Linked DNA regions of Homo sapiens: regions 1 and 2 are each linked to region 3. Evidence: promoter capture Hi-C in human tissues and cell types (Jung and others, 2019). All regions are on one chromosome and are shown on one strand. Each heading gives the region's core, a stretch centred on a gene start or on the middle of the fragment in contact. The rest is flanking DNA. Distances are from core to core; before and after follow the strand shown.

Region 1 (3,177 bases), core at 272-2,771, 260 kb after region 3:
ATCAGTAGAGACAGCTGTTACATTAACATGTGAGAAAGTATCAATTATCATGACAAGAAAGTACAGAGCAAAAAAAAGTGAGAAAAAATGATCACTGGTGGAATTATTTAAATCCTTTCTCTTTATCAGGGCTACTCTGCAGCAAACATCCTGTAATCACTCTGAAGAGCTCTGAAAATGGGTTATTTAGCTTCCTAGTCCTATGATCTAATGCGACCAGATGGAATTTGCCCTTTAAAAAAAACCCTTTTCTCTCTTTTGTTCTCAAGTGATATCACAGTAATGATGAGCTGGATACCCAAAGTCTAGTTATTAGTTTTAAATGCTAAAATGGCTCAGCCTACCTACACTCTCAAAATCATCTGATTCACTGGAGGGGATTAAGAAAATGTACTGGAGTGTTAGAATGGATTTCCAAAGGAATCACATGTTTACCTCAAATCAGAGGTTCTTGGCCATAGCTACAAGCTTTGGCTCTTATTCTCACCTTACATGAAATATTTTGGGATGTTTCTCACCGTTTCAAAGATTTGAAATTTAATTTCAAGTAGCTGAATAGAAATGACATTTCCTAAATTAAAAAATTAGCACTAACTGTATGACACCCTTCATACAAATACTTTTTAATCTTAAAATAAACAAAGCTCCTCTGACTACAAATGAAATTTAAATCAGAAACTGGAACACCACCTCTAGTAGGCCAGTCTTTCCTTGCCATCCCTGAGTGAGAGGGGTCTCTGGTAAAGGGTATCAATCCTACATATATGTTATTAGCAGCATTGCTTTCTGTTTCTTAAGATAGGATGACAAGAAATCTTGCTTTCTCAACCCTGTTTGGAGGTGAGAGTATTCAATTCAGCACACATGTGTTGAGTTCCTGCTTTGTGCAAAGACTTGGTCTCAATACTGCGAGGGCGTAGAGTTCATACTCAGGAAAGAAGAGACATATTCATTTAAAAAAAAGATGTTAGGAAGCTCAATATTATGAGTTACTAACTATTGAAAGCGTTTAGTTCCAAAATTCTAAATCATTAAATTATAACATTTAGTCAGCAGAATAATCCAGGCTAAAAGCTAAACTCACTTTTCTCCTTTGATCAAAACTAAAATTTCTGTAGGTTGAAAGTAGAGAAGGAAAAGGTATAAGGACACAGAAAAGACAAACGCAGTAAGTATGCTTTACTATTAACTGAGCTTTTAACTCTTTCATAAATATTATCTAACTCTGTGTTTGCCTTTTTGAAGGGGCACAAAATGGGGAAGTGGAGTGACTCAGGGCAGCTGGTGTTTTAATGACAGGTCCTCCAAGACAGCACTGGGGCTGAATCATCAGGATCTACTCTCTGGTCTTGACTCAGTCAGGTCTGACAGCACTAGACCCAAGAAGAGTAGCCTTTCTATGACAAACTCATACTAAATGAGCCAAACCAATTCCTAAAACTAGAAAGCCAATCTATTCATCCTGCATCCAAACCACACCTTATTCCACAGCAAATTTAAGGCCACTTAGAAATATGTGGGCAAGTTATCAGAGAAAATAAATCAAAAATTTAAAAACAGAAGAGGCAAATAACAAATAAAAATAAGACAGCAAGATGGCATTGGAAGTGAAGTAAGCTCACAATGTATAGAGAGAGGTATATATTCTTGTAGAATAGCCTCCTTATAGCTGGAATCACAACGCATATACAGTGAGTTACATGGTGGCACCATCATCGTATCAAGATACCAGAGGAGCCAATCAGAAGATTATTCAGAACAAAGGAAATATAATGGGCTGAGGAGAGACATTCCCCTAAACTCTAGAAAAACCTGAGATCTGGTTCCTCAAACAAGACCCACAGCTGCAGTAGTTCAGTCTCCACGCCCAGGGTTCCTCCCTGGACAGTGCCACAGACCTGCTTCTCTGCACCCACTTACTTGGGTTCACACTTCCCTTCACCAATACATGAGGGATCACTGAGGACATAAAGCAGCCTCAGGCACTCCACGAATTCCTCATATGAGTCTTAGACACTCTTTGTCTAGTCCCATCTTTATCTTTGTCTTTCATCAGACCAATCCTTCAAATGTATTAGGTAAAATACACTAGCTATGAACTAGATAGATGACTTTCTCAAAGACAACAGAAGTATTTGTAATCCATCAGGGATCTTGGAAAAGGTTAAAATAAGAAGAGTGGCTCCAGATACAAATTCTCTTTAAGAGATCCTACTGCCATCAATAAGATATATTCTAAGTTTCTGCACAAAACTTAGCATGCCCCTTGACAGTAATTCAGCCAGTGGGAATTACTAGCTATTTGGAATTTCAAAAGAAGTGGAATTTCTAAAGAAGAAATGCAAAATAGAAAAAAAAAAACCCTATGTCCAAATATATCTATTGTCAAAAGATATCCATGTTGTTTATAAAAACAAATAACTAGAAACAATCCAAATGTCTAAGAATTGAGAAACTGATAAGTAAACTACTGTTTCGATTGAGTGCTATATTATACATCACTAAAATGATGTATATTATTTTACATCATTTTAGTGATATAGAAGTATATATAGAAGTTCTATACTTCCACATATGGAAGTATATATAGAAGTTCTATACTTCCACATATGGAAGTATATATAGAAGTTCTATACTTCCACATATGGAAGTATATATAGAAGTTCTATACTTCCACATATGGAAGTATATATAGAAGTTCTATACTTCCACATATGGAAGTATATATAGAAGTTCTATACTTCCACATATGGAAGTATATATAGAAGTTCTATACTTCCACATATGGAAGTATATATAGAAGTTCTATACTTCCACATATGGAAGTATATATAGAAGTTCTATACTTCCACATATGGAAGTATATATAGAAGTTCTATACTTCCACATATGGAAGTATATATAGAAGTTCTATACTTCCACATATGGAAGTATATATAGAAGTTCTATACTTCCACATATGGAAGTATATATAGAAGTTCTATACTTCCACATATGGAAGTATATATAGAAGTTCTATACTTCCACATATGGAAGTATATATAGAAGTTCTATACTTCTATATATGGAAGTATATATAGAAGTTCTATACTTCCATATATAGAAGTATAGAAACTTGTGTATACATTAGAATTGCAACTTTGGGAGCTGGGCGCAGTGGCTCACACCTGTAATCCC
Region 2 (3,153 bases), core at 379-2,878, 400 kb before region 3:
TTATACATCATCACCAAGTGGTAATTATTTCTGGAAGGCTTCAATACATGAAGTGCAATCAGTGTAACCCATTATATTAGCAGACTACAGAAGAACAAAAAAAAATCACAAAAATCAATGCAGAAAAAGCAGTGACATAATTCAACACCTATCGATGACTTTAATTTTTTTTTTCAGAAAATTAAGAATAGAGGGGAGACCAGGTGTGATGGCTTACTCCTGTAATCCCAGCACTTTGGGAGGCCGAGACAAATGGATCACTTAGGCCAGGAGTTCGAGACAAGACTGGCCAACATGCCGAAACCCCGTCTCTACTAAAAATACAAAAATTAGGCATGGTGGTGCACGCCTGTAATCCCAGCTGTTTGGGAGGGTGAGGCACGAGAATTGGTTGAACCTGGGAGGCAGAGCCTGCAGTGAGCCAAGATCGTGCCACTGCACTCCAGCCTGGGTGACAGAGTGAGACTCGGTCTCAAAAAAAAAAAAAAAAAATAGAATGTCTTCAACTTGATGAACAGTATCTATAACACAATCTGCAGTTAATATTATACTTAATATTGAATACTTTCCCTAGAAGATTGGAACAATGCAAGGATGTTTTGTTGAGCATAGTACTGGAAGTTCTAGCTAGAGCAACAGGCAAGAAAAAGAAGCAAAAGACACATATATCACAAAGGAGTAAATAAAAGTGTTTGAAGATTACATGATTGTCAACTTAGAAAATGGCAAGGAATCTATCAAAAAAAAAACCTCATAAAATAAATGACTTCAGCAAGGTCACAGAATACAAGAAAACATACAAAATAAGTTCTGTTTCTACATACTAGCAATGAACATGTGAACAAAATTAATAATTCAACACCATTTATAATTGCTCAAAAAATAAATATTTAGGTGCAAATCTAGCAAAACATGTACAGGACATGTATGCTAAAAACTGCAAAACTAAAGAAAAAGAAGAGGAAGAAGGAGAGAGTGAAGGAAAGGATAGGAAAAAAGAAAAGGAAGGAAGAAAGGGAGAGAGGGAGGGAAGGAAGGCCAGAGAGGAAAGGAGAGAGAGAGATCTAAATAAATGGAAAGATGTACTGTACTCACAGATCAAAAGACTAAATCTATAAAGATATCAATTCTCCTCAAACTGATGTATAGGTTTAACACAATTTATATCAAAATCCCAGCAATATCCTTTTATATAGAGAGAAGATTATTCTAAAATTTATATGAAAAGTAAAAGGAACTAGAATAGTAAAACAATTTTGAAAGAGAAAAATAAAATGTAAAAAATCATCTACCAAACTTCAAGATTTATCGTATAGCTACAGTAATCAGTTCTGTGATATTGCCTGAGTGATAAGCACAATAGAACAGAACAGAAAACCCAGAAATAGACTCTTAAATATGCTCAACTGGTTTTTGACAAAAGTACAAAAGCAATTCAATGAAGATAGCCTGCTGAATAAATGGTGTTCAGAAACTAGACATCCATAAGCAAAACAAAAAAAGAAACATATACAAAAATTAATCCAAATGGGTTATAGAGTTAGATGTAAATTATAAAACGTAAAATTTTAAGAAAAATATAGGAAAAAAATCTTCAGGTTATAGGCCTAGGCAAGGGTTCTTATACTTGACATTAAAAACATGATTTTTTAAAAAAGCTTCATGAATTAGACTCCATCAACATGAAAAACTTTTGCTCTGCAAAAGACTCCATTAAAAGAATAAAAAGACAAATTACAACCTTGGAGAAAATATTTTCAAACCACATATTTGACAAAAGGCAAGTATGTAATTAACTCTCAAATCTCAACAGTAAAGAAAAAAACACACAGACATTTCATCAAAGAAGATATACAGATGGCAAACCAACATATGAAAATATGTTTCACATCATTAGCCATTAAGGAAATTAGGAATGTGATGAGTACTGTATGCCTATCAGAATAGCTAAAATGAAAATAGTGACAATATCAAATGCTTGTGAGAATGTGAAGAAACTGTGTATTAGTTCGTTTTCACGCTGCTGATAAAGAAATTACCAAGACTGGGCAATTTACAAAAGAAAGAAAGTTTCACTTTGCAGGGAAACTCCTCTTTATAAAACCATCAGATCTCATGAGACTTATTCACTATCATGAGAATAGTACAGAAAAGACCCGCCCCCATGATTCAGTTACCTCCCACCAGGTCCCTATTACAACACGTGGCAAATTGTGGGAGTTACAATTCAAGGTGATATTTGGGTGGGGACACAGCTAAACCGTATCAAACAGGATCACATATACATTGCTAGTGTGAAGATAAAATGGTACAGCCTCTCTGGAAAACAGTTTGGCAGTTTCTTAAAAGAACTGCACATGCAATGTTCATATGACCCAGGGACTGCACTGCTATCCCAGAGAAATGAAGACTTATGCTTACACAAAAAGAAATCTACATGGATTTTTATTGCAGCTTTATTTGTAATTGCAAAAAACTGGAAACAACCCAGATGTCCTTCAATGGGTAAATGATTTAAAAACTGTGGTATATCCATATCATGTAATACTACACAGAAATAAAAAGGAACAAACTACCAATGCATACAATTTGAGTGAATCTCCAGAGAATTTTGCTAAGTGAGAAAACAAATCCAAAAAGTTATATACTGTATGATTCCATTCTATAAGATTCTTGATGTGACAAAGAAAGGGAGACTAGCTTAGTAATTGACAGGAGCTAAGGAAGGTATTTAAGTGGAAGGGAAATGGCTATAAAAGGACAACATGGGGGATTTGTTGTGGTGATGGAAATGCTCTGTATCTATCTTGACTGTATCAATGTCCACATGCAGATTATAATGTTGTTCAAAACTATTGTATCATAGTTTTGCAAGGTATTACCAGGGGGATAATGGGTAAAGTATATACAAGGTCTCTCTGTATTATATCTCACAACTGAATGTGAACCTACCATTATTTCACAATAAAACGTTTAATTAACACACACAATATATATATATAAATAGTTTGCCAAGATGCCTTGTCTTTTTCTTTCAGATGAACATATAGACCTGTTTTATTTAGGTGACTACTTAATCTATTCACTCATTTTTTTAATTTCAACTTTTATTTTAGATACAGGGGTAAATGTGCAGGTTTGTTATATAGGTAT
Region 3 (3,268 bases), core at 103-2,602:
GAAGTTTTCGTCAGCCAGAAGATCAGTGCCATTGCTTTCCTCAAGTTTCCTAAATTCCTCCATCATTCTAGATTTTATCACAGGTTCATGTTGTGTCTTTCTCAGTTTGAAGCCATAGTCAAACCCACTGCCATCTTCGGAGACACCCAGCATATCATACCACAGTCGGGCAGGCCCATAACGCCACTCAGCCACTCTTGGTTTGGTATCTGTCACTTTATCTACATCTCCAGTTGATTGGGAAAATTTGGACTCCACAGGAACCATCATCGTGATTTCATCATCAGCGAGACACTGCTCTGGGGGTGGTGGTGGAGCATAGTCATAGTTCCACAAAGACTTCTGGCTGACTTCTGATTCTACTGAGCATTCCACCTCCTGGATCTGCTCTTCCTGTATCAGCTCACGATGCTTCTTCCTCTTTCTCCGAGCACTCCGCCAAACAGATGGGACATTCTTCCCTGGTCCAAAAAGATGTAGGAAGCGTAACACTTTTCCAGGTCGAAATTCTGGAAAAAGTTCGGTGACACTTGGCAACAGCTTGGTGGCATCATGCTGCATAATCCCAGCCAATGGAAGGGTCAGCTTTCCATCCTCAGATTCTGCCTGTGTTGCTTCCTGAGGTCCCATCTCAGATTCTGAATCAGAGTAACTACTGAAATCCACTTTCTCTGAGGCCAAAAAGGAAGGGGCAATGATGGAGGGCAAGATGATGTCTTCTCCACTTTCAGACACACAGGTAATAGCATCTTGGTCCTTATCCTTCTTCATTGGTCCCGGGGGTGGAGGTGGAGGAGGCATCAACTTGCAATCAATGTCTTCACAATCAGCATCATAGTCATCTTCATCATAATCCGAGTGGTAAAGGGGCTGCAAGCTCCCCATCGTCTGCTGGTGTCTTTGGCTTTCATCTTCTGCCACCTCATTGATGTCTGAATAGTCTACAGCATCTTCTGTACTCCTAATCCACCCTTCATCATTTACCAAGGCACCGCCAGTCCCAGTCAATTCTTCATTTGCCGTGAGTTCAGTGATTAGGCTGCCCAGCCCCAAAGCCCCCAAGCCTGCCAAGTGCTTCTTACACTCATCATCCAAGACGCTTTCCCCCTCCAGCTGCCCCGCTCCACTGATGTTGCCGAAAAGGATACCCGCTAAAGTAAATGGGCCACCTCCAGATGAATCTTCCTCGCTGTCCGAGTCTGACATGATGGCGGCAGTGACGGTAGCTGCTGCCCTCAGCAGCAAATCGCAGCCGGGTCGCATAAACCGGAAATAAAACAACAGTCGCCCGGAAGTGATCTACTTAGCTCCCTTACCCTACCAGCGTCTACCGGAAGCTGAATAAAGGCGGGGGGAGGGGGCAAAGGGGCGGGGGGAAAAACCCGCAAAACTTTTTTTTTTTTTTTTTTTTGAGACGGAGTCTCGCAACGTCGCCCAGGCTGGAGTGCAGTGGCGCGATCTTGGCTCACTGCAAGCTCTGCCTTCTGGGTTCACGCCATTCTCCTGCCTCAGCCTCCTGAGTAGCTGGGACTACAGGCGCTCGCCACCACGCCTGGCTAATTTTTTTTTTTTTGTATTTTCAGTAGAGACGGGGTTTCACCATGTTAGCCTCTCGATCTCCTGACCTCGTGAACCGCCTGCCTCGGCCTCCCAAAGTGCTGGGATTACAGGCGTAAGCCACCGCGCCCAGCCTGTTTGCTGGTTTTTGAGACAAAGTCTTGCTCTGTCGCCCCAGGCTGGCGTGCAGTGGCACAATCTCGGCTCACTGAAACCTCCACCTCAGGAGTTCAAGAGATTCCTGCCTCAGCCTCCACAGTAGCTGGGATTACAGGCATGAGCCACCATGCCTGGCTAATTTTTTGTATTTTTAGTGGAGACAAGATTTCACCATATTGGCCAGGCTAGTCTTAAACTCCTGACCTCAGATGGTCAGCCCGTCTCTGTCTCCGAAAGTGCTGGGATTACAGGCGTGAGCCACTGCACCCAGCCTCTGTAAATCTCTTTATACATGAACTGCATATGTATGCTTCTCCAAATAATCTATAGCATTGTCATGCTTTACAATTTTGTATAAAAGGCATCTTACTGTGTGTACTCGTTTTTTTTTTCCCCCTTCCTTTTTTTTAAGAGATGGGATCTCACTATGTTAGCCAAGCTGGTCTTAAACTCCTCCTGGCCTCAAGCAATCCTCCCACTTTGGCCTCCCAAAGTGCTGAGATTACAGGCAAGAGCCACCAAACCCGACCTTACTGTATGTACTCTTAGCCAGAATGTTTTCTGGATAAAATTTATGTTTATGATATTCAACTATGTTGATGCATTCAATTCTATTTTTATAGCTCTATAGTGTTCTACAGTATGGTTATGCTACAATTTATCTATGTTCCTATGTTTGTTCATTTAAATTGTTCCCAAATTGTTCCTCTTATAAATAATGTATATGATTCCTTGAGCATATGTAGGACACATTCTCCAGGGTATACATCTAGGAGTGGAATTACTAGATTTTACAATATATGCTTTTTCAACTACACTTGCTATTACTAAATTGTTCTCCAAAGTAGTTGTACCATTTTACATACCTAACAGCAGTGTATAAAAGTTCTCACCTCTCCACATCCATTCTAACACTTAGCATTGTCATTTGTTAATTTTTGTTCATTTCTAATAAATGTATAATGATAATGTGGTTTTAATTTGTATTTTTCTGATTGCTACTGAAGGCTAACTTTTCATACACTTATTGACCAACTGTTTTTCCTCTTCTGTCAATTGCCTTTTCATATATTTTTATCTAATTTTTATAGTATCTTTAGGTTATCTGTCTTTTCTTTAATGTATAACAGTTCTTCATATATTATGGATTTGCTTGCAAATAACTTCCCCAGTCTGTGACATGTCTTTTAATCTATTTTAATGGTGTCTTTAATATATATTTTAAAATTTCAATCTTATCAAATTTTTCCTTTATGCTTTTTTTTTTTTTTTGAGACAGTCTTGCTCTGTTGCCCAGGCTGGAGTGCAGTGGCGCGATCTTGGCTCACTGCAACCTCTGTCTCCAGGTTCAAGTGATTCTTCTGCCTCAGCCTCCCCAAGTAGCTGGGACTAGTCTAGTCAACTGTCTTAATGATTTTCACAATTTGATTGCAGATTATCTTGGGTGGTTGTTTATGTAATCCTCTATAAGTAATCATATTTAAAGTGTTATTATTTATCATTCTATTTTTAAATACTATCAATTGTGTATGCATGTTTTTATCTCTTCCTT

The links. The method cuts DNA at HindIII sites, captures the fragments that hold promoters and counts their contacts. A contact is called where the count stands out against the background at its distance.
Region 1: a fragment that was not itself captured here is called in contact with the fragment with the promoter of TAF1L in region 3 in 3 of the 25 tissues and cell types used here (dorsolateral prefrontal cortex, lymphoblastoid cells and small bowel).
Region 2: a contact is called between a fragment that was not itself captured here and the fragment with the promoter of TAF1L in region 3, in 2 of the 25 tissues and cell types used here (mesendoderm cells and pancreas).

Annotation. Positions count from the first base shown.
Region 1 is chr9:32,898,075-32,901,251 of GRCh38, forward strand. No RefSeq gene overlaps it. Among named protein-coding and RNA genes, the nearest start is that of APTX, 100 kb to the right of the region's middle. The HindIII fragment of the contact is 8,795 bases long and covers 1-3,177 here.
Region 2 is chr9:32,235,571-32,238,723 of GRCh38, forward strand. No RefSeq gene overlaps it. Among named protein-coding and RNA genes, the nearest start is that of ACO1, 150 kb to the right of the region's middle. The HindIII fragment of the contact is 7,110 bases long and covers 1-3,153 here.
Region 3 is chr9:32,634,317-32,637,584 of GRCh38, forward strand. TAF1L (TATA-box binding protein associated factor 1 like) reads right to left here and starts at 1,353. Exons shown (of 1, transcript NM_153809.2): 1 at 1-1,353. The coding sequence starts at 1,263. The HindIII fragment of the contact is 9,470 bases long and covers 1-3,268 here.